6 separate regions of the Homo sapiens genome follow, and regions 1, 3, 4, 5 and 6 are each linked to region 2. The links are contacts of gene promoters, found by promoter capture Hi-C in blood cells and fetal thymus (Javierre and others, 2016). All regions are on one chromosome and are shown on one strand. The core of a region is centred on a gene start or on the middle of the fragment in contact, and the rest is flanking DNA. Distances in the headings are between cores, read along the strand shown. Region 1 overlaps NACA (nascent polypeptide associated complex subunit alpha). Region 2 holds the start of NAB2 (NGFI-A binding protein 2). Region 3 has its middle 5.7 kb from the start of ATP5F1B. Region 4 overlaps PRIM1 (DNA primase subunit 1). Region 5 has its middle 5.1 kb from the start of PRIM1. Region 6 overlaps BAZ2A (bromodomain adjacent to zinc finger domain 2A).

Evidence for each region. The method cuts DNA at HindIII sites, captures the fragments that hold promoters and counts their contacts. A CHiCAGO score of 5 or more calls a contact.
Region 1: a fragment that was not itself captured here is called in contact with the fragment with the promoter of NAB2 in region 2 in 2 of 17 cell types (erythroblasts and M0 macrophages); the score reaches 7.7 in erythroblasts.
Region 3: a contact is called between a fragment that was not itself captured here and the fragment with the promoter of NAB2 in region 2, in 1 of 17 cell types (M0 macrophages). The highest score is 5.4, in M0 macrophages.
Region 4: a contact is called between a fragment that was not itself captured here and the fragment with the promoter of NAB2 in region 2, in 1 of 17 cell types (endothelial precursors). The highest score is 5.1, in endothelial precursors.
Region 5: a fragment that was not itself captured here is called in contact with the fragment with the promoter of NAB2 in region 2 in 11 of 17 cell types (erythroblasts, total CD4 T cells, naive B cells and 8 more); the score reaches 9.5 in erythroblasts.
Region 6: a contact is called between a fragment that was not itself captured here and the fragment with the promoter of NAB2 in region 2, in 1 of 17 cell types (monocytes). The highest score is 5.1, in monocytes.

What each region holds. Positions count from the first base shown.
Region 1 is chr12:56,719,182-56,723,475 of GRCh38, forward strand. It overlaps NACA (nascent polypeptide associated complex subunit alpha), which reads right to left. Exons shown (of 9, transcript NM_001365896.1): 3 at 1-2,278. Among named protein-coding and RNA genes, the nearest start is that of NACA, 4.0 kb to the right of the region's middle. RefSeq lists an enhancer at 1,635-1,754. The HindIII fragment of the contact is 4,291 bases long and covers 1-4,140 here.
Region 2 is chr12:57,087,299-57,090,977 of GRCh38, forward strand. NAB2 (NGFI-A binding protein 2) reads left to right here and starts at 1,816. Exons shown (of 7, transcript NM_005967.4): 1 at 1,816-2,056. The coding sequence starts at 1,974. It also overlaps a transcript of NEMP1 not described here. RefSeq lists silencers at 18-167, 348-407, 1,408-2,027 and an enhancer at 1,088-1,137. The HindIII fragment of the contact is 12,439 bases long and covers 1-3,679 here.
Region 3 is chr12:56,649,773-56,653,623 of GRCh38, forward strand. No RefSeq gene overlaps it. Among named protein-coding and RNA genes, the nearest start is that of ATP5F1B, 5.7 kb to the left of the region's middle. The HindIII fragment of the contact is 2,056 bases long and covers 1,469-3,524 here.
Region 4 is chr12:56,737,941-56,741,632 of GRCh38, forward strand. It overlaps PRIM1 (DNA primase subunit 1), which reads right to left. Exons shown (of 13, transcript NM_000946.3): 9 at 3,495-3,636; 10 at 1,354-1,423; 11 at 494-585. Among named protein-coding and RNA genes, the nearest start is that of PRIM1, 13 kb to the right of the region's middle. The HindIII fragment of the contact is 3,398 bases long and covers 473-3,692 here.
Region 5 is chr12:56,755,554-56,759,332 of GRCh38, forward strand. No RefSeq gene overlaps it. Among named protein-coding and RNA genes, the nearest start is that of PRIM1, 5.1 kb to the left of the region's middle. The HindIII fragment of the contact is 3,519 bases long and covers 303-3,779 here.
Region 6 is chr12:56,609,980-56,614,048 of GRCh38, forward strand. It overlaps BAZ2A (bromodomain adjacent to zinc finger domain 2A), which reads right to left. Exons shown (of 29, transcript NM_001300905.2): 4 at 3,974-4,069; 5 at 3,036-3,254; 6 at 1,794-2,267; 7 at 1,594-1,654; 8 at 430-538; 9 at 135-236. Among named protein-coding and RNA genes, the nearest start is that of BAZ2A, 18 kb to the right of the region's middle. The HindIII fragment of the contact is 1,811 bases long and covers 686-2,496 here.

The DNA of each region.
Region 1 (4,294 bases), core at 745-3,244, 370 kb before region 2:
GAAGATGCAGTAGCAGAAGCACCAGAGTCCTCAGTTGGGCACTCTTTGGGAGAGGAAGCAACAGGTGCCAATGCTGAAGTATGAGAAATACCATCAACCTTTTTTGTACCTGGAGGAGTCCCAGCTGGGGGAAGAGAGGGTGAGGGCACAGACTTTGGGATTTCAGGGGCCAGCACTAAGGTAGCCAGAGGAGCACAGGTATTCTGGGGGGATGGAGCCACAGGGCAATTTTCTGAAGCTGTAGGAACCAAGGGTAAAGTAGTAAGAGTACCTTCCTTAACTGGGTGGTTTTTAGGAGCTAAAGAGACAGTTCCTTCTAGAAAAGGGCTGGCTGTAGTTGTATAAGTTGAGGTACCTTTGGCAGTTGTGGGAGCCACCCCGGCAGGGTCAGCACTTTCCAAAGGAAATGCAGCCACTGTTGGGGTAATGAGAGAACTTTTGAGAAGCGGACCAGCAGAGTCTGGGCCTGCATAAGAATCTGTCTTGATTACAGAGGCCGAGGAGTTAACACCCAGAGGGGAGGTCATACTGCTGGCTGGCTTACCTATAGGGAGAGGCTCCCCAAGGCTTTTCTTTGCTAGGGTGGCTTCAGGAGAAAGAGGTATCTCTGGAGAAGAGGATGTACTTTGGAAAGAAGGGGAATTTTTAGGGGCTGCCTGGACTAACGGTAATACAGTAGGGTCTTTCTTGGTGGTGAGTCCTGCTTGGGCTGGAGAGAAAGGGGCTCCTTCAAGAGAGGCAGGTACAGTTTGGAGGTCTTTTTGTGTTGGAAATTTAACCAATACTGAACTGGGGAGATTTTTGAGGTCTTCAGGGTCTGGCAGAGGAGGAGAGACTGGTATCCTCAGAGTGGTTGCTACTTGAGTAGAAGGCTCTTTGGGAGCCACAGGTGCCATAACCAAGGCAGCAGGGGAAGTTGGTTCTATGTTACTTATGGGACCTGATGACATTGGAGGAGAAACACAAGTAGCTACCTCAAAGGTAGTAGTAGGTGCTGCAGCAATTGTACAGGGGTTAGTCACCACAAGTGGGGTGGTTCCAACAGAAGAAACGGGCATTTGGGCCACTAAAGGATAATGATAAGTGGCATTAGGAGAGCTTTTGAGAATGAGAGAGGTTGTAGGAGATAATGAAAAAGAGGTAGCTACATTTAAGGAGCCAGAAGGGCTGCAGGTTATGCTAGAGATGGTAGAGGGACCTTTGTCAACAGATGGAGCCACCACTGGAAAGGCAGCCACAGTAGCAGGAACTACCTCATTTCTGGAAGGAAGGGGAGGAATTACAGATCTCTGAGAAGGATAAGAGGCCCCTGTGGAAGAATGATCTACAGAAATGGTCTTCACTGTAGGGTCTGACAAAGCACTAGGACCTGTTTGACCTAAAAGTTGGACAGAACCAAAAGAACTCTGATGTAAAGGTGCAAGATGAGAGCCCAGAGAAATGGGAAAATCTGGGGGGGTGTTGGGACCCGCAGTCTTTTGAGAAGAGGTCACCACAGGAAGAGACTGAGTTGAAAGAGATAAGGCAGCAGGTGGACTAACAGGCCCCTTCAGGCTGAGGCTTCCTGGGTTTTGTGGAGAAATCAGAACTGAGGAAATGGTGGTATCTTTGACTTGAGGGGAAGCGATGGCTAGGGTAGTTGTGGGTGTTGTCTGAGGAAGGGAGGCCACTCCAGATTGAATAGAGGCCATGGGAGTCACACAGTGGTAAGGAACAGTACTGACTATACATGGAGGGCTGGGGGTGCCTTTTGGATTAGGGACTACCTCAGAGGGAACTTTATTAAGATTAGTCTTTGGTTCTGAGGGAGCAATGGGAGCTGACAGAGTTATCACTGACCCTGACTCAGCTACAGCCACTGAAGGAGGTGAAGTAAGAAGGTTAGGTGGAAAAGCAGAACTCTTCTGAACTGAGTGGGGAGCCAGGGCAACCAGAGCTAAGGGAGCTGAAGAGGAAGGGGTCCCTTTCAGAGTTGGAGCTATCATGGGAGAGGCTAGAGCTAAGGCAGCTGGGGAGATGGGAGGCCCTATTAGGTTTGGTAGGAAGGTTGGGGCTTCAGGGGCAGTTCCCAAAGGTAGGGCTGTTCCAGAGGATGACTGGGGAAAAGGAACTTCTAAAGGGGTCGAGGCAATAGTAGAGGGGGAAGGGAATGGGGAAGCCTGGTTAGCAGCTGAGAGAGGGCACTGTTGTGGGGCAGGAGAGCAAGGAGGGGGGAGGGTAGGTCCAGGCTGCCCTAAGGCAGCAGTGACACTCAAGGCTGAAGACATAGGTAGCACAGCTGGAGAAAGGCAAAAGGAGATAAAGAAAGGGGGAGGGGGAGGAGAAAAAAGGTGAGTTATGCAGCCCAACTTGGTACAACATGCCTCCTAGGAAACACTGGAGTTTAAAATCTGACAGTCTAAGTCACCACGCAGGATTAGATAAAGGTGACAGGCAACAACAACCTTCCCCAAACATTTTTCAGTGGTCAAGTGAGAAGACATTCCCCTCCTAATTTCTCACACTTCCCCAAGTTCTACCAAAGTAAACCAACTATTTTAGGGTGAGGAGAACAGTCTAAGAGCAGCCTATCTCTAAATGGGGAGCACAGACTCTTGGTAGGTTGAGAACAACATGCTTTCTATCCTTTCCCAGTTGTGCCCTCCCCTTACTTCTTGAAATGGACTGTATTCCCAAGTCTTTCTCACAGCCAACAGAATTCCCACGAGAAGAACAGCTGTGCTACTCTGTCCACCCAAATATCATGAACAGAAAAGATACTGAAAACTGGAACAAAGAAGTTAGTGAGCAGTGACGATGATGGGGAATCTGAACTGAATAAGAAAACACAGGCTTTTATACTTTCAGGCTTCCACTAGGCTAGGAAACATCTGACTCTGTTAGAATAGTTTTGGGAAGGAGGTGCACAGCACAATTCAGTTCTTCCTAAAGTTGAAACACTTCAGAATTTAATATCAAGTATTAAAGTCACTTAGCTTCTTTATACCTTACCAGTTTACTTACTCACAAAACCCAAACAAGAAAACCAACCACAAAAGGACTGTAATAGTCTCTATAAACCTTCCTAGGTGATGTTAATTCTTCAGACATCAATCCAAGATGAATTAGACATGAATTAGACCTCCAGGCAGAGAGCTTACTCACAAGGGTAGGGACTGTATTATGAAACTGTAACCTAACTTGTTAAACCAGATTGTGGTGCTATTTTGGAAGAAGAGAATTGGAGAGCCTGTAACAGTGGCTCATGCCTGTAATCCCAGCACTTCGGGATGCCTGGGAGGGCGGATCACGAGGTCAGGAGTTCCAGACCGACCTGACCAACATGGTGAAACCCCGTCTCTACTAAAAATACAAAAATTAGCTGGGCGTGGTGGTGTACACCTGTAATACCAGCTACTCAGGAGGCAGAGGCAGGAGAATGGCTTGAACCCAGGAGGTGGAGGTTGCAGTGAGCCAAGATCGCGCTACTGCATGCACTCCAGCCTGGGTGACAGGGTGAGACTCCGTCTCAAAACAAAACAAACCAAAGAAGACAATTGGAGTGGCGAGAATACACTGGATCCCCACTCCTTAACTTGGAATTTAAGTGTTTCATTATGTCAAAATACACCAATGTTTGGCATGACAGTAAGACAGTATCTCTGGCATTCAGGAGGTAACACAGAATTGGATCAACAAATGCTCAATGCTTAGAAGGGAATGTTAAGGGGGGCGGGGGGGAAGCCCGTGGTACCAAAATTCAAATTCAAAATTCACTCAACCAGTAATTCTGAAGTTCTTATGGCATCCTACCATGGAAAAGACAAGGTGGCTCAACTAGTTTTTCCTGGAGAGTGGGTAGGCCAAAGTCTAACGATTACAGGAAAACGCTACCAAACATAATGAATCAGAATTAAAAACATGGAATATGTTTTCTTCTGACTGGACCTCAAATGGAATAAGCACTCAAATACTTGCTTTGACACCATCAACAATTCCTTGAGCTTCCTTCTTCATTCTAATAGACTATCATTACAGATAAAACCTTGTGTATTTATCATTGGTACTTCCTTAATATAAGCCTACTATGCAACTCAGACTATTCAGGAATACGTTTAATAGCATTAAGGACTGTTTCAGAAGTAAATGCATTAGTTTTGAAGCTTGAATCAGATTATTCTAAATTCATCTGAATTTCAAATCTTCGTATTTGTAAAATTAAGTTGTTCAATGACACAATCTCTAAAATCTCGTTTTGTACTGAAATTACAGAATCTTTAGAGAACAGTACTTTATTTTTTCCCTTCCTTAAGCC
Region 2 (3,679 bases), core at 566-3,065:
GGCCGGGGTGGGAGGGAGGGGGGCGCCTCGAGCAGAGGCTGCGTGGGCGGAGGATGTGCGTCACGGGGAGCGTGGGCTGGGGGAGGGAGGGGGCACGTGGAAACCCGGGGCCAGCGGCTGGCAGCCCGGGATCCAAAATAACCTGAGGTGGGGGGGGAGGGGTCGCCCACACCCCGTACGGGGTCGGGAGCGTCCCCAGGGGAGCCCGTCTAGCCGCACCCTCCAGTTGCGGGGCGGGGGACTGGGAGACGGGACTCTGCTCGTTCCCACCACCCCCACTGTGTTTGGCGCTTAATAGGTTGGAGAAGAGGACCTGAGCAACTGAAATCCTCCCACCAACAACGCGCTCCTTCTCCCCGGACCCCACAAGGCGGAAAGGTCTCCTCGCTAGGCCACATTGTAAAACCAGCCCCGGTCCACGGCCTCCACGCCCCGCCATGCCCCACCCCAGCCCCTCAGAAGTGCGGACAGAGAGGCGGGGCGGGGCTGAGATTCCGGACTAGGGGAAACCTCACCTGTGGCCAGTCCGCTCGCTTTCCCCGGCCCCCACCCCCCCTCCTTTCCCTGGGGCTTAGAGTCTATGGGCCGGGCCCTTAGAGCCCCCGCCTCCCCCAACAGCCCTCCCAGCCGTGGGCGGGAGTGCAATGCGAACCAGATGGGGCTAGGAGAAACCAAAGGGGGAGACGGTGGTGGGTTGCAGAGGCGGGGGCTAAGCTCCTTCAAGGCGCTCCTCCTTCCAGCTCCGCCGCAGGAAGTCACGTCGTAGGCTCCCGACCTCTTACTCATCTTCCACTAGACTCTCGGGCGAGGTCCCTAATAGACGGCCCCAGGAAGGGTATCGTCTTTGTCACACAAAATTCCCAGGCAGGGCCTCATCCTCAGCAAACAGAGGACAAGTGGAGGAATCCCTGCCTGACCTACGCGCTGACAAAAGCCGACGCGTCTAATCAACACGCGCACCTAAGTGGTGGCGTGCAGCATAACCCTCCCATTCCTGTTTCCCAAACTTTCCAGGCTAGCATGGAGGCCTGGGTTTCTGAGAGCGACCCCCTCAGATTATTCCATTGGGGCTGAGGAGGGGCGCGGGGATATCTAGGAGATCCCTGCAGAGCCCCACGCTCTCAGGCCCGCCTTAAGTGCACACTATACGGGAGTCAGATGCACGCACAGGAGAAGCCGCACAGCCCAGCCTTCGCTAACTTTTCCCGGCTCACTGCTAACATTCACACGTCCAGCACCACAAGGCCTGAGTATGGGCAACGGGCGTCCCCGTAGTTGTTTAGGCGCGTGTGCACGTCCGTGCGCTTCTGTGTCTTTGTGTACTTGTGCGTGGTTGTGAAACTCCTCTCTCAGCTCGGAGGGGTGGGGGAGAGAAGGAATGTCGCCGGCGGGGCGCTCACGTGGGTACGTGGGCGCCAAGAGGGCCGGCTGTGCATCCGGCGTGGGCGGCACAGAACGACCTCGCCCCGCCCGCTGGGTCCCCAAGCCCGCCCTGCACAGCCGGGCCTCGGTCACCTCGGTCCCCAATTCGGCGCCCCGGCTCTGAATCCCCGCCCCCGCCTCCTGCTCCACACCCCCTCCCCCCCCGTCTCCGCCTCTCCCAGTCTCTAAGCCGCGGCGTCTCCGCGGCCGAGAGGCCCCAGCGCCCGCCTCCCCGGCCCCCGCCCCCACCCCCGCCCCCGGCTCTGCCCACGCCCTCCGCCCGCCAGCCCGGCAGCCAGCGCAGCTCCGGGCCTCGCTCCCTGTGCGTCCTGCGGGGGCGGAGGCGCGGAGAGGCGGCAAGCGCAGCCGGGGAGGGTGGGGGGGCAGAGGCACAGACAGAGGCGCGGAGGCTCGGAGAGAGAAGACGTGGAGGGAGGGACAGAGCCTGGACAGCGGTGGACACGGCATCGTGCGCGGGGAAGAGGGCAGCACGCAGCAGGCGCCGAGCGCCGGGCACCGAGAAGGGCAGCCCGGGTGATCTCCGGCCGTCCATGCACAGAGCGCCTTCCCCCACAGCCGAGCAGCCGCCGGGCGGAGGGGACAGCGCCCGCCGGACCCTGCAGCCCAGACTCAAGTTAGTGGGCAAAGGGAGGCAGCGGGGAGTGGAGATGGGTGGAGCTGGACTTGGGAATGGGGTCCAGAGGGCGGAGGTCGAGGGGAGGACGTGGGGAAGCAGGACGGGGGTGGGGGGTGGAGACTGATGGAAAAGGGGGTGCGTCTTCGAATTAGGGGGCCCTGGGAGCAGGCAAGCATCTGATGAAGCTGGATATGAAAGAGTAGTACCCAAATCTCCATTCCTGGTTTACTCTGTGGGCTCCATCTGGCCTAAGAGCCCCCTGCAAAGAATGTGGGAGCCTCCAAGCACCAGGGGATGCCCTGGAGCTCGAGCTGGCATCAGTGCGGAAGGTGGGGGGACGCTCAGTTGCCTCAGTCCCTCGTTGGCACGGAGCGCGCGGGCCCCCGGTGCCTTTGAGTTAAAGGAGCATCAGCGGGGGAAAGGGGGGGTGACGAGGGAGGCAGGGAGGCCTTAGGCGTTCCTTCCCATATCTGTCCCTTTATTCACAGAGCGGGGAGGGGAGTTTCAGTGTGCAGCCCCTTCATCAAGAGGCCTTGAGCCGCTCCCCCACTCCACTTGAAGATGCGGGTGGAAAATATGGGAGAGGAGAGTAGGCGGGAGCCCCTGGGCGGTTTTCGCCTACAGACGCTACCACTGTGGGAGTGTGTGTGGGCGGAACGGCCCCGGAGCAGAACAATTGCGCCCCTCCCCCTGCCACGGCCCCTGAGCTGAAGGAAAAGGCTGACCGAGGAAGTGGGGAGTGTCACTGCTAGGAGAGGGGCCACTGAGGAGCACTGGGCAGCCTGGAAGGGTGGAGAGGTTCTGAGGGGAGAGAGGAAGCGTGCGTTAAGAATGCTTAACCAGGCCGGGCGGGCCCGGTGGCTCAGGCCTGTAATCCCAGCACTTTGGGAGGCTGAGGCGGGTGGATCACGAGGTCAGGAATTCGAGCCCAGCCTGACCAACATGGTGAAACCCCGTTTCTACTAAAAATACAAAAATTAGCCGGGCATGGTGGCGGGCGCCTGTAATCTCAGCTACTCAGGAGGCTGAGGCAGGAGAATCGCTTGAACCCGGGAGGCGGAGGTTGCAGTGACAGCGCCACTGCACTCCAGCCTGGGTGACAGAGCGAGACTCCGTCTCAAATAAATAAATAAATAAATAAATAAATAAATGCTTAACCCCTGGGAAAAGCTGAGCGGAGAAGAGTAAGGCACCACCTGGCTCACTGAGTGGGAAAGCCAGGGAAGGTGCCACACCCTCCCTTTTAGCCACCTGGGGCTGTGGCCCCTTCACAGGGAATGAAGCTGGCCAGCAGCGTCCACTGTGGGGGAGACTGGGCTCCTACATTCACTTTAGTATGGGTGACTTCACTTCAGTGTTGAGACTGCTGAGTGTTTAGAGGGGAAGGTGAGGATTGTGTTTTGGGGGAGAGGGAGGTCCAGCCATCCCAGGTCGGTGCTGGTCAGCCTCAGCGCTCAAGTTCTTCTTGCCCCAGACCAAAAAGATAAAAGCTGAAGATAAGGTTGTAAGACGCTTCGACTCCTACAGACACAGGCCACTGACTTTTGGGGCTTCGGGCCAGTCTAGGACGGCACTGGCTTGTCCATGCCTCTGAGCAGTGCCTGATTCTGAGAGTCTGTA
Region 3 (3,851 bases), core at 1,247-3,746, 440 kb before region 2:
GGAACTCCCAAAGTATTGGGATTACAGACGTGTGTCACTGCCCCCTGCCTACTCTGACATTTCTTTTTTTTTGAGACAGAGTCTTGCTCTGTCACCCAGGCTGGAGTACGGTGGCACAAACTCGGCTCACTGCAACCTCCGCCTCCCAGGTTCAAGCAATTCTCCTGCCTCAGCCTCCTGAGTAGCTGGGATTACAAGCGCACACCACCACACCTGGCTAATATTTTGTATTTTTAGGAGAGATGGGGTTTCACCATGTTGGCCAGGCTGGTCTTGAACTCCTGACCTCGTGATCCACCCACCTCGGCCTCCCAAAGTGCTGGGATTACAGGCATGAGCCATTGCTCCTGGCCTACTTTGACATTTCTTTTTTTTTTTTTTGAGTCAGAGTCTCGCTCTGTTGCCCAGGCTGGAGTGCAGTGGCATGATCTCGGCTCACTGCAAGCTCTGCCTTGCGGGTTCATGCCATTTTCCTGCCTCAGCCTCCTGAGTAGCTGGGACTACAGGCGCCTGCCACCACACACCCAGCTAATTTTTTTTTTGTATTTTTAGTAGAGACGAGGTTTCACCATATTAGCCACGATGGTCTCGATCTCCTGACCTCGTGATCCGCCCGCCTAGGCCTCCCAAAGTGCTGGGATTACAGGCGTGAGCCACCGCGCCTGGTGACATTTCTTAATCCAAGTTTCTAAGAAAAACATTCATACCAGGTAACCGAAGATCATCACTTTTTGAAATGTATCACACATTTGTCCTCTTATCAAATTACCAAGTAATTTAACTTTTCTTGGGTATTAGGGTTATTCATTCAACAAACCTTTTTATCACATTGCAATGCTAAATGCTTTCAGTGTTAATGAGGTGGGGCTCCATGGCTCACGCCTGTAATCTCAGCACTTTGGGACCCCAAGATGGGAGGATTCCTTGAGCCCAGGAGTTTGAGACCAACCTGAGCAATGTAGGGAGACCCCGTCTCTATTAAAAAAAAAAAAAAAAAAAAAAAGGGCCGGGCATGGTGGCTCACGCCTGTAATCCCAGCACTTTGGGAGGCAAAGGCAGGTGGGTCATGAGGTCAGGAGATTGAGACCATCCTGGCTTACGCGGTGAAACCCCGTCTCTACTAAAAATACAAAAAATTAGCCAGGTGTGGTGGTGGGCGCCTGTAATCCCAGCTACTCGGGAGGCTGAGGCAGGAGAATGGCGTGAACCCTGGAGGCGGAGCTTGCTGTGAGCCAAGATCACGCCACTGCACTCCAGCCTGGGCGACAGAGGGAGACTCCATCTCAAAAAAAAAAAAGTTAAAAGTAAAAAAGAGCTATTTCTCCATGAGACCATTAAGCTGAAGTTTGTGAACTCTTAATTTTTCTCACTCTGTTGCTATCAATGTTGGCCTTTAACAACCTCCTCTCCCTCTCCTCTGAAATCAGTTAAATTTATTAATATAAGTAATAATGTCTAAAATAGAATAAGCTTGATTAGCTCAGATTGAGATATGCCTTAACCAGCATTCTGAATAAATAATGTAATCTATTTTAGAGTTGTAACATGTTTTTGTCCTACATATTTTTTTTTGAGATGGAGTCTTGCTATGTTGCCCGGGCTGGAGTGCAGTGGCACGATCTCAGCTCACTGCAAGCTCCGCCTCCGGGTTCACGCCATTCTCCTGCCTCAGCCTCCCGAGTCGCTGGGACTACAGGCACCCGCCACCACGCCCGGCTAATTTTTTTGTATTTTTTTTAGTAGAGACAGGGTTTCACTGTGTTAGCCAGGATGGTCTCGATCTCCTGACCTCGTGATCCGCCCATGTCGGCCTCCCAAAGTGCTGGGATTACAGGCGTGAGCCACGGCGGCCGGCCTTTCCTACGTATTTCTTGATTGAGACCCAGATTGTCCAAGTGATATTTTATATAAAGTACAAGTCGGGGTGGCTGGCCGGGCGGGGGCTGCCCCCCACCTCCCTCCCGGACGGGGCGGCTGGCTGGGCGGGGGCTGCCCCCCACCTCCCTCCCAGACGGGGCGGCTGCCAGGTGGAGACGCTCCTCATTTCCCAGACGGGGCAGCTGCCGGGCGGAGGGGCTCCTCACTTCTTAGACGGGGCGGCCGGGCAGAGACGCTCCTCACCTCCCAGACGGGGTGGCGGTCAGGCAGAGACACTCCTCAGTTCCCAGACGGGGTCGTGGCCGGGCGGAGGCGCTCCTCACATCCCAGACGGGGCGGCGGGGCAGAGGCGCTCCCCACATCTCAGACGATGGGCGGCCAGGCAGAGACGCTCGTCACTTCCCAGATGGGATGGCGGCCGGGAAGAGGCGCTCCTCACTTCCCAGGCTGGGCGGCAGGGCAGAGGGGCTCCTCGCATCCCAGATGATGGGCGGCCAGGCAGAGACGCTCCTCGCTTCCCAGATGGGGTGGCAGCCGGGCAGAGGCTGCAATCTCGGCACTTTGGGAGGCCAGGGCAGGAGGCTGGGAGGTGGAGGCTGTAGCGAGCCCAGATCATGCCACTGCACTCCAGCAAAGACCAGTCAGGCGTGGCGGCACGCGCCTGCAGTCCCGGGCGATCGGCAGGCTGAGGCAGGAGAGTCGGGCAGGGAGGTTGCAGTGAGCCGAGATGGCGGCAGTGCAGTCCAACCTCGGCTCGGCTTCAGAGGGAGACCATGGAGAGAGGGAAGGGGAGGGGGAGGGGGAGGGGGAGGGGAGGGGGAGGGGAGGGGGAGAGGGAGAGGGAGAGGGACGGAACCTGAAGTTCTAGAGTGATGCAGGAGTTACCCCTGCAAGGATGGTTATGTAAAAATGTCAAAAATAAATGGAACCTGAATGGAAAAAAAAAAAAAAAGTACAAGTTATTTTTCACAGGGGAATAGGAACCACACAGACCCACCCAATCTGGTTTCTTATCTGAAGTTAATTCCAAATGACTGTGCTCTGTAATTTAAAATTCATCTTGAAGTGAAAATTACATTTTCCACCAAATCCTTTCATTACTGCTATCCACATTGGTCATACCCCCACATCCTTCCAGTACTCTGGTAATTGGTGGAATGTGTTTTTTTGGTCTCTACTACATTTCTTGACAATCATCCCGGATTATTTCAAATTCCACGAAAAGAACCCATTCAATGCCCTGGCTTCAGAGATCCTCAACCACTTCAATTCCAATTAGTTTTTCACATTCCCATTTCACATAAGCAGCCTACTTCCACAGCCATTCCCAAGTTGAAATATTCTCTTTCAGAAATCCAATATTCCTTTCTTAGGTCACAATTTGGAAGCACTATTTATTACACAAGTAACATATGAACATATTCTAGGTGTACAGGATGAGTTCTTTCACCATTACTTCCAAAACTTCCACTGTCCTTCCCAAAAATGACCATTGAAAAAACTTTTTGCATACATTCCACTCACTTTCTGTTTCATATACATATAATGCAGGGTTCCCCAGTGCCTGGGCCACAGACCAGTACCCGTCCATGGCCTGTTAGGAACCAGGCCACACAGCAGGAGGAGAGTTGTGGTCGAGTGACCAAAGCTTCATCTGTATTTACAGCTTCTCCCCACTGCTCACGTTACCACCTGAATTCTGCCTCCTGTCAGATCAGTGATGGCATTAGATTCTCATAAAAATGGAAACCCTATTGTTGCGGGAAGTCAGGGACCCCAAACGGAGGGACCGGCTGAAGCCACAGCAGAACATAAATTGTGAAGATTTCATGGACATTTATTAGTTCCCCAAATTAATACTTTTATAATTTCTTACGCCTGTTTTTACTGCAATCTCTGAACAGAAATTGTGAAGATTTCATGTACATTTATCACTTCCCCAATCAATACTCTTATAATTTCCTATGCCTGTC
Region 4 (3,692 bases), core at 922-3,421, 350 kb before region 2:
TCTTGAACTCCTGACCTCAAGTGATTTGCCTGCCTCGGCCTCCCAAAGAGCCGGGATTACAGGCGTGAGCCACTGCGCCCAGCCAGCTTCTTCAAATTCTTGAATATACAACTTGGTAAACAGTTTAGACATATGTTTACCATAAAACCCACCTATATGCATCAGAAACAAAGAAAAAAAGTACTGCATATATAATAGTTGTTAAATAAATAGGTGGTGAATCTCAGAGACTGATTATTCATACTTATTGATAGTTTAATCTTACAGTATAGATCCTAGCATTAAAAGTTACTTAGGAAATATGTGTTGAATCAGACTGGATTCAATAACACCACTTGGGCTGCTGTTGAAGAAAGGACACAAACATTGTATGCAGTTCCAGGACAAATGCTGATCCATTCTAGTTGAATCAGAGAATTAATTACTGGAGTGACAGATGGATATCTATATAAAAACCCTGTATTTAAAGTGAAGCTTCAAAATATTACCTTACCTCTGGTTCTATGTTTGACATCAGATTCAGCTTCATTCTCCTCTTTTTCCTCTTCATTAGTGGAAATGGCATCCAATTCACGGCAGATGAAGCTGCAAGTAACAGAACAAGAGAATTTTGTTTTTGTTTTTGTTTTTGAGACGGAGTCTTGCTCTGTTGCCAGGCCGGAGTGTGGTGGTGCGATCTTGGCTCACTGCAACCTCCGCCTCCCAGGTTCAAGTGATTCTTCTGCCTCAGCCTCCCAAGTAGCTGGGACTACAGGCATATGCCACCAAGCGCAGCTAATTTTTGTATTTTTAGTAGAGACAGGGTTTCACCATGTTGGCCAGGATGGTCTCGATCTCTTGACCTTGTGATCCACGCGCTTTGCCCTCCCAAAGTGTTGGGATTACAGGCATGAGCCACCGCGCCTCACCACGAACAAGAGAAGTTTAATGTTGGTTTCTGATCAGCATTATCCAGTGTATAATAGCATGTGAATCCCATAAAATTTACTGTAAAAAAATTATGCGGCCAGCTAAATTTGGGATATTCTAAACACCATGATCTCTTCTTGGAGTTTTTCATGCATATTATCATATGAAAGACTGTGAAATACTGTAGTAAAAGATACTTTTAATCTGTTTAAGTCAGAATTTCCTAAATTTACTTGACCTTAAAATCTTTTTCTTACATAACAGCAGGTGAAAATCTTGTATTGTTCTATTAGGGCATCGTCATCTAACCTTTGAACCTTATTTGGTTTCCATAACCAAATATACCATTCCCATGCAACTACTTCTCTAAGGAGGCTAATTCAATTTATTTAAAATTCATAACAACAATTACAAACAAGGAGTGATCAATGATCTGAAACATACCTTATGGTCGGAACAGTAAATGGATCAAACTGGTCCACTTTCTGCAAATCAATAGGCACAGATATGCGACCTGTAAGACACAAAAGTTATAAACTGATGATTGTGGACTATAAATCATTATAGTCATCTCCTACAGGTTATTTTTGGTTAAAATTTTTATTTAAGGCTTAGACAAAGGGTTAAACTTATCTGTTAAGAAGAGTATTTAGAAATATAAATTACTTTCACATTAGCTGTGCCCTTACTCTTTTTTAGAGTTAATGCCTCACTTTGTCACCCATGCTAGAGTACATACAGTAGCATGGTCATAGCTCACTGCAGGCTTGATGTCCTGGGCTCAAGTGATCCTCCCACCTCAGTTGTCTCCCAAAGTGCTAGGATTATAGACGTGAGCTACTGCTCCTGGCCTGGCCAGTTTTTCAATTTTTGTTGAGTTGGGGTCTCACTATGTTGCCCAGAACTCCTGGCCTCAAACAATCCTCTTGCCTCAGCCTCCTGAGTTGCTGGGATTACAGGTGTGAATGACCATGTCCAGCATGCCTTTTATTTCTCTTTAAAAAACCAGCCAGGTGCAGTGGCTCACGCCTGTAATCCCAGCACTCTGGGAGGCTGAGGAGGGTGGATCACAAGGTCAGGAGTTCAAGACCAGCCTGGCCAAGATGGTGAAACCCCGTCTCTACTAAAAATACAAAAATTAGCTGGGTGTGGTGGCGGGTACCTGTAATCCCAGCTACTTGGGAGGGTGAGGCAGAGAATTGCTTGAACCTGGAAGGCAGAGGCTGCAGTGAGCCAAGATCGCGCCACTGTACTCCAGCCTGGGTGACAGAGTGGGACTCTGTCTCGAAAAAAAAGGAAAGAAAAAAAACAAAAACAAAAACCAATAAGCAAATGTGAAGACTGTTGAGCTATTTCCCAGTTGCTCTTATCCCTACTTTTATTTCTATATTTAGAAATAAAGTATATTTAAATATTCCATATTTAAGTTCAGAACAATCTCAGAGTTAGTGAGTCCTGAAAATAGAACAAAATAGATGAAACTATAATATTTACATTGGCTTGGTTTATTTGAGATCAATACAGATACCCACATGTCAGACACCTTTAAAAAGCATTTAGGAAATAAAATAGAAATTCCTCTACTCTTTTATAATACCCCCCTAGGATACCATATAGAATTTAACACATCTCAAAAGTGACGTAATGAGGCTGGGCGCAGTGGCTCTTGTCTGTAATCCCAGCACTTTGGGAGACTGGGGCAGGTGAATTGCTTGAGCTCAAGAGTTCAAGACCAACCTGGGCAACATGGCAAAACCCTGTCTACAAAATATTAGCTGGCTGTGGTAGCACATGCCTGTAGTACCAGCTACTCAGGAGGGTGAGGCAGAAGGATCGCTTGAGCCGATCGGTGAGCCGAGATTGCACCAGTGCACTCCAGCCTGGGTGACAGAGTGAGACTCTTTCTCGAAAAAAATTTTTTTTTGTTTTTGTCAGTGCTAGGAGTAGAGTTCATTTCATTTCTTTCTTTTTTTCTTTTTTTTGAGACAGGGTCTCACTCTGTTGCCCAGGCTGGAGTGCAGTGGCACCATCACAGCTCACTGCAGCCTCAACTTCCCAGGCTCAAGTGATCCTCCTGCCTCAGCCTCTTGAGTAGCTGGAACTACAGGCATGCACCACCACGTCTAGCTAATTTTTGTATTTTTTGTACAAAGGGTGTTTAGACATGTGGCCTAGGCTGGTGTTAGACTCTGGGGCTCAAGTGATTTGCCCACCTTGCCCTCCTCAAGTGCTGGGATTACAGGAGCAAGCTACCACATACAGTCACACACAATTTTTTTTTTATGACCTTGGATGGGTTACATCTTGGGCCACTGTTTTCTCATCTGTACAATGAGAGCTGTTGTCCTAAGATTTTGATGGTCCTCTCCAAATCTAATATGGAACCTCAGAAACCCAACTGAAAAACAGTTACATAGTAGAAACTCATCTGGTAGCTACTTAACTGACTTAGGTATTGGGTGACAGAGCAATTCTTCTACCTTTAAATCATAGACATTATATATATTCAGACCTAATGCCATGCTTACTAAAGCCAATAGCAACTCATTTTTCTTTTAGTTTTCCTTAGTTTCCTTGTGTAGTACCTGTTTTAGGATGAACACTAAAAGGGCTCTTCAGTAGATGATTGATTCCTTTGCTGACATTGATATCCAGCCGTGGAAAACAGTACTGGAGCATAATCTCCCACTCCAGCCAGGGTCCATATTTGTCATTTTTGATGTTATTCTAAAAGCAGATACAAGGCCAACATGAGGATCAGTAGGAACTGTTGAAGATTTCTT
Region 5 (3,779 bases), core at 812-3,311, 330 kb before region 2:
ATAGGGAGGCCTGAGGAGAGGGAGAGAGAGAGGAGAACAGCATATTGGCAGAACAGTCAGAACACACACAACATTTATTGATTAAGTTTGTCTTCTTATATAGGCACAGTTCGTTGCACCCCCAAACAATTACAATAGTACCTCAAAGATCACTGATCACGGATCACCGTAACAGATACAATAATAATGAAAAAGTTTGAAATATTGCAAGGATTACCAAAATGTGACATAGAGACATGAAGCAAACACATGCTGTTGGAAAAATTGCACTAATAGACTCACTGTATGTAGGGTTGCCACAAAGCTTCAATGTGTAAAAAATGCAATATCTTTGGAGCATAATAAAGTGAAGCACAATAAAATGAGGTATTCCTGTATATAGCTTTTGCCATGATGTCAGGTACCATTTTATGAATTTATCCCTCATGAGAACTCTATGCGGTAGTTGCCAACATCATCCCTATTTTCTTTTTCTTTTCTTTTCTTTTTTTTGAGACGGAGTCTTTTTCAGTCGCCCAGGCTGGAGTGCAGTGACGCGATCTTGGCTTACTGCAAGCTCCGTCTCCTGGGTTCACGCTATTCTCCTGCCTCAGTCTCCTGAGTGGCTGGGACTACAGGTGTCCGCCACCACGCCCGGCTAATTTTTTTTGTATTTTTTTAGTAGAGATGGGGTTTCACCATGTTAGCCAGGATGGTCTCGATCTCCTGACCTTGTGATCCACCCGCCTCAGCCTCCCAAAGTGCTGGGATTACAGGCGTGAGCCACCACGCCTAGCCTCTTTTTTTTTTTTTTTTTTTTTTTAACGCTTTTCCTGTTTGGAAGGAAAAAGTGCAGCTCGCTGCCAGCAGTCATTTAATTTTACATAAGCATGCTCTTTGAGGCTGAAACAAATCTGACTGATTTCCAATGTGAAAATAAAATATAAAAACTGTTCTTGGAGTTCTTTCTCTCTCTCTCTCTCTTTCTTTCTTTCTCTTTCTTTTTCTTTCTCTCTCTCTCTCTCTCTTTCTCTCTCTTTCTTTCTTTTGAGGTAGAGTCCCGCTCAGTCGCCCAGGCTGGAATGCAGTGGTGCAATCTCGGCTCACTGCACCCTCTGCCTCCCAGGCTCGAGCCATTCTCCTGCCTCAGCCTCCTGAGTAGCTGGGATTACAGGTGCCTGCCCACATGCCCGGCTAATTTGTGTATTTTTAGTAGAGATGGGGTTTCACCATGTTGGCCAGTCTGGTCTTGAACTCCTGACCTGAGGCGACCCACCCACCTCATCCTCCCAAAGTGCTGGGATTACAGGTGGGAGCCACTGCGCCTGGCCTCTTGGAGTTATTTCTAAACAGAACTAACATTAAAGTCATTGGAATAATTAGAATTGTGGATTAATCAAAGAATGATGTTAACATCATACATAGGAATTCAGCATTTTCTAGGATTTGACAGTTTTAATGATCAGAATTACTGTATTTTGTAAGTGGAAGTACCACTACTGAAAACAGAATGCTGTTAATAGAATGATGTCTTTTGTTTCCAAAGTCAGTAATACTAGAGCAATATGAAAATAATAAAAGCAAGATATTTCACGGCAAAGTTATCTCTGGATAAATGCTGCAGCTACAAGTGCTGCCAGCAAGTATTCTTGGGGCAAATGGGAAAAGGGTTAAATTTTAAATTTATTGTTATTTTTATTTTTTGTAGAGATGGGATCTCACCGTGTTGTCCAGGCTGGTCTCGAACTTCTGGGCTCAAGCAATCAGCCCACCTCGGGTATATTAAGTATATTCAGAGGAACGGGCCAGGCCAGGTGGCTCATGCCTGTAATCCCAGCACTTTGGGAGGCCGAGACAGGCAGATAATGAGGTCAGGAGTTTGAAACAAGCCTGGCCAGCATAGTGAAACCCCATCTCTACTAAAAATACAAAAAAATTACTAGCCGGGCGTGGTGGCATGTGCCTGTAGTCCCAGCTACTCGGGAGGCTGAGGCAGGAGAATCGCTTGAACCAGGGAGTCGGAGGTTGCAGTGAGCTGAGATGGCGCCACTGTACTGCAGACTGGCGACAGAGTGAGACTCCATTTCAAAAAAAAAAAAAAAAAAAAAAAAAGTGCTCTGGCATAGAGGCCTTTATCTCAAATGCCACTGGGAGGCAGTATCACCATTCAGTTTGTTTCCCTTTGTGATTTCATACACATAGGTGCAAACCCCTTTTTTCCTTCAGTCCTTATGCTACCTGGCTCTACCATCGTTTTTAGTCTTTTTTTGTGGTATATCTATCAGCCTCAAGTTTCTTGCCCCATGTTGTTTGCAGACTTCGACACTTGCCTCATTGATTGCCTGTCTAGTTTAAGTCCTATTGTTATTCTGGGTGTTTTTAGCATCTGAAAGGATGATCTATTCTGTAAAGGTATGGTTGATTCAGTCATTCATGAATTCATTCATTTATTCCACAAATAGTTAATGAACATATGTGTTGGGCACTGAGATGAACTGTGGGGAAAATAATTAATGACATTATTTCTGCTTCTGAGAAAGCTATATCATACTAGGGGCAATAGACACAAATAAAAAAGTGTAATGAATGAGCTGGGCATGGTGGCTCATGTCTGTAATCCTAGCATTTTGATAGGCAGAGGCAGGTGGATCACTTGAGCTCAGAAGTTTGAGACCAGCCTGGCCAACATGGCGAAACCCCATCTCTACAAAAAATACAATAATTAGTGTGGCATGGTTGCTCATGCCTGTAGTCCCAGGGAGGCTGAGGTGGATTGCTTGAGCCCAGGAGGTTGAGGCTGCAGTGAGCTGTGATTATGCCACTGTACTCCAGCCTGGTGATAGAGCAAGACCCTGTCCCCCCGCCCCAAAAAAGCGTAATGAAGTATTATAGGTGCATTTTTAACCCAACTGTCTATTTGTTTTGCCATGTTCTTAAGACATGGATAAGATTAGTACAGGGAACACAGGCACAAAAGTATAAATGGCACTTTTGGGAAGCTGCCAATAGTTTCATATGGACAGAGCCCAGACTTCAAGGGAGGGTATAGTGAGAGATGGGGCTAAGAGGTAAGCCATGGTCAGAGCATTGCCTGCCAAGTTAAGGAGTGTGGAAGTAAAAATTATTCATCATCTACTTTATTTGGTTAAAATGAAAATAAACTATTGATCCTATTAATATTTGACAAGAAGCCTTGGGAGTTAAAATCCTGTTGAAGTAAGTAAGTTGCTTGAAAACTTGGAGTACTCCTATGTTAGTTATTTTCCTTGTTAATAAAATAAAGAAGAGAAGATTAGAAAATATGTTACAGGACCAACAGGTTTGTATGCCCACTGCACAGCAACATACCAATACACTGAGACAGTAGGGTTTGCAGCAGAGAAAGAGTTTAATGATTGCAGGGCGGCTGAGCAAGGAGATGAGAGGAGATCTTCAAGTCCATCTCCCTGAGGAGTTCTGGGCTGGGGTTTTTAAGGGGATTGTGGAGAATGAGGGACTGGAAAATTGGGGTCATTGAGTGGTTGGGGTCAAAGGGATGAAGTCGTCAGGATGTGGAAACTGCATTCAGTGAGTCAGCTCCTTGTATGATCCTTCAGAACTGCTGATGTCGATGGGGTCCTTCAGATCAGCTGACCTCATTAGTTTCACTGGTGTGCAGGACCTGAAAGGATATCTCAAATGGAAACAACATTTTATAATGTTCAAGTTGTTATCTATAATAGAGCAGTTAAGGGGAACTATACTGTCTGATCTATGTGATTCTAGGACAATATGCCTAAACAACGATGAGAAAGCAGGTC
Region 6 (4,069 bases), core at 341-2,840, 480 kb before region 2:
GGAATCAGTGCAGGCCACGAGGCCCTCGGAACCATTCAATGCCCCAGAACCTTCAAACCCCACGAGAGGAAGCTGCAGCTTGTCCACCAACTCTTCCTCAGGGACAAAAGCATATTTAACCCTTGGGTCTGCACCTCTGGCGTGTCTCTTTCTTCAAAGAAATCTCCAACAGGCATACGGGGACTGAAGCTGAAGTGCTCTCGGCGGACACTGTGTACCACGTTGCGGCTCAGGTACTAAGAGGAAGAAGTAAAGTAACATTAATAAAGTTGGATCCTACCATGTCTTTGGCCAGCAAAGGCATAAGCAGAACAGGCCCAGAGCAGACAATGCCAGCCTGTTGTCACTGAGCCCAAGAACGGAGTCTTGGGCAGTGGAAAGGAGTCCACTGAGCCCAAGAAAGCAGTCCTTTAAAAAAAGCTACATTACCTTGATCACTTCTGGAAATTGCTTCATCCTCTTCCCACAGGGGCCATAATACCAGGTCTCCCCCTGCCATCGGTGGCTGCCCTTCTTGATGCGCACCTCTCTCCGCCACCTGCCAGAGAAGCACATGGGCCCTGCCGCCAGGTCACACCCCTACCCACTCCCATGCCACCTAAGCGCGAAGCCCTCTGAGCAGATGGCCCTCCCCACATTTGTATCTCTAGAACTGCATGCAGATGCAAAAGCACCAAGAGAGATAAGCTTGGCTAGAAGGCTGACTTGAGCTCCAGCAAATACATCAAGGCCCTTAGGAGAAAAGCACTACACCAAACTGCACAAGCTCAGAGAGATCTCCATCCCTCCTTTACAAAATCAGTGAGATAAGCTGCCAGAAACCCCTCCCTGAGCCATTCAGGGCAGTTACTGGATTTCCAGTAAAGAGGATAAAGACCTAAGGGGAATAAAGACAGAAGACAAAGGGCAGGGAGGCAAGCAGAAAAATAAATTTGCTGCTGATTCCATGAAAAGACTCAATATGCCAGGGTTTAGTTAGGAACTCTGTGTTCTGAGCAGAACACAAAGTTAGTCAGAGTTAGTTCTAAGACTAACTCTAATCTTTCTCTCAAAATTTTAAGCAGTACTCAGACTTGGTGACCACAAGTAGCCTTGAGGGGCAGGGGTGGGGAAGATCCAGGAAGGCAGTTATTTCCACAAGGCCCTGGTGTCAGCTAGTTTGTTCATTTTGGTCATGTACTGTTCCTGCCCTTACCTCTCCTAAGAGCATTAAAACAACAAAACCACCTCAATTCATTAGTACTAAGTCACTCCTCATTCATTACTATCCCTTGTCCACAGAAATAGGACAAGCCAGCTGGTTTGGATGTGAGCCCTAGGGTTTGGAAAAGATAATAGCTGGAGCTCCTTGGGCAAAATTGAGTCACTACAAGATGAAAAAAGAATAGGTGATGGAAGACAGACCTTGAGAGAAGAAGGAAAACCTAGGAATCTCATGCCAAGAAACATTATCACTGCAGATAACTGTCCTGTAATCTACTCTTGTCTGGCCCATTCCTCCCCCACCTCAGAGGAAAAGAGGCATTCCCTTCTTTCTAGAGTTGTGCATTAAACTTGTCAAGGTCAATAAATGTAGCAAACTAGAGCATTTACCCATGTTGGAGGGGAAGACGAACTTCTTCTGGGGTAGCAATACGTCTCCTCATGACATCACCTTGGGAGGAAGGGATACCCAAGTTAAGAGTTCAAGCAAAATATTTAAACAATAGGCCAATAGGGAAAGGCTAACTACAACATGGGACAGAAAAGTTTCTTGGAACCAGACAGGGATAGAATAGAATCTGGATACTCACCACTACCAGAAGCAGTGAGTCCTTCTCCAGTGATCTCTTCCACGTCAGCAGTGGTTTCTAGAAAGCTGCTGACATCCTTATTTGCTGGGGAGGCTGTTGGAAAGGCAGCTGCTGGGGAAGTTACGGGAGAGGCTTTTGGGGATGTCACTGAAGCCGTCAACGGGACTTCTAAGGAGACTGCTGGGAGGACTGCTGAGGAAGCTGGAGAGACCACTGAGAAGACTGCTGGAGAGACAACTGTAGAAGCTGCGGGACAAACTTCTGGAGAGATTTCTGGGGAGGCTGCTGGAGAAACCACTAGGGAGACTGCTGGGGAGGTTGTTGGCGAGACTGCTGGTGAGGTTGCTGGATGTAGCTGAATAGTGGATGACTGATCAGGAGCTGGCTGGGTCAGGGATGGTGGGAAGTCTGAAGATTGAGTTTCCATTTCTTCCTGTTCAGCGTCACTACCATTATTCAGGTCAAAGCTGTTATCTAGAATCCAAAGGGACAGGATAGGCTTTAAAAAAAAAAAAGGCATCACATAAAACAAGAGAATCTACTCAGTCAACCCTGGACCAAGCTAAACAGGGTTACTTCAAGGGGTCTTCCCTAGGGTTGGAAAAAGAAGTAGCTTTTTCTCCCAACCAATCATGAGGATTAAAGGGTAAAGTTGCTACAGATGTCATTGTGTGAAGAAATACCTTTTACCTGGTGCCAATAAAGCTTCTAGCCTCCTTCTCCCTACAAATTCCAAGTCTCACAAGTTCTTCAAAGCAGAGGGCACAGGTCGGAGTATAGCAGCCTATACCTCTTTTAGTTCCACCATACACTATCCCATAGCCCCTCAGCTCCCAGCAAGGTGCTCTTGCTTTCCTACTTTTTTTTTGAGATGGAGTCTTGCTCTGTTGCCCAGGTTGGAGTGCAACGACACAATCTCGGCTCACTGCAACCTCTGCCTCCTGGGGCCAAGCGATTCTCCTGCCTCAGCCTCCCAGGTAGCTGGGATTACAGGCATGTGCCAACACACCTGGCTAATTTTTGTATTTTTAGTAGAGGCGGGGTTTCACCATGTTGGCCAGGTGGTCTCAAACTCCTGATCTCAGGTGATCCACCCGCCTCGGCCTCCCGAAGTGCTGAGATTACAGGCGTGAGCCACTGCGCCCAGCCAGATTTCCCACTCTTAAGGCCCTAACTATGAAACTTATTCTCTCATCTTTTCTCAGGTAAAGGTCTTTCTTTGTCCTACCTACCGTCACTTACCTTGCAGGACAGACTCCCCTAGGACAGGTGGAGAGGTGGGACTGGCAAAGATAGAGGTTGATGTTTGACTATCATCTGCCAGGAGACTGAAGGCAGTAGCATTATTGAGGGAAGGGCAATCAAGGGCAGAAATCACAGGGCTGTCCTCAAGAGGCAGCTTGTCCTCTGCACCCATCAGCTCCGTGTCATCAATACCATATAGTCCTCCACTCACTGGCTCTGTTTACAAGGGTAGAAAAATCAGAGCAGGATAATGAGAAAAAAATCAGAAAGCAAGATTTAAGAAACACTGGTCAGAAAACATCCAATTCTAGTTCCCACAATGTGAAGATTCTTCCTAATATTAAGTTAGGTAACAAGTAAAGCCTTCTCCCTGAAAGAGTAGTCATGAGATTATAGGGATCATAAAAGTTTGAGGGGAGGCCGAGGCAGAAGAATTGCTTGAGGCCAGAGTTCAAGACCAGCCTGGACAACATAGCAAGACCTCATCTCTACAAGGTGAAAATGAAAGGAAAGGCATTGGTGGTATTATCTACCCAGAGACCTATGCAAAATTCTAGGATTTATCATAAAATATGTCTTTCTTGTACTTCAGTGGAGTAAAAGGTAACTGCTCACTGACAAATGTTTTCTTCCTAGTTTGTCAGAACCCAGAAAGATCAACTGTGTGATAATAAGTCCCTACCCAGTGAATTATTACAGCCCAGAGCTCTTGGCCAAAAGGAATACTGGGAAAGAACCTGGGACATGAACCAATTCAGCTCAGAATTCAGTTAGGGCACCAAGTCCTGTGGCATGTAACTGTGGTCTGCCTTAGGCCTACCTGGAAGCCCCAGTGCCCCTGATTGCCTAATACTTTTCCCATTTTACTGTCTCTTTCAGGTAAAGTTTGGCTACTCTGCATGGATAAGTTAAAGGGACATAGCCTCCAAACCTACCTGGTGCCAGAGAGTTGAAGGGCTCCAGAGAGTCTTCACTGAGGATTGGAGTGTCTTCCAGTTGATCAGGAAGATGTGAAGGATCATCTAAACAGC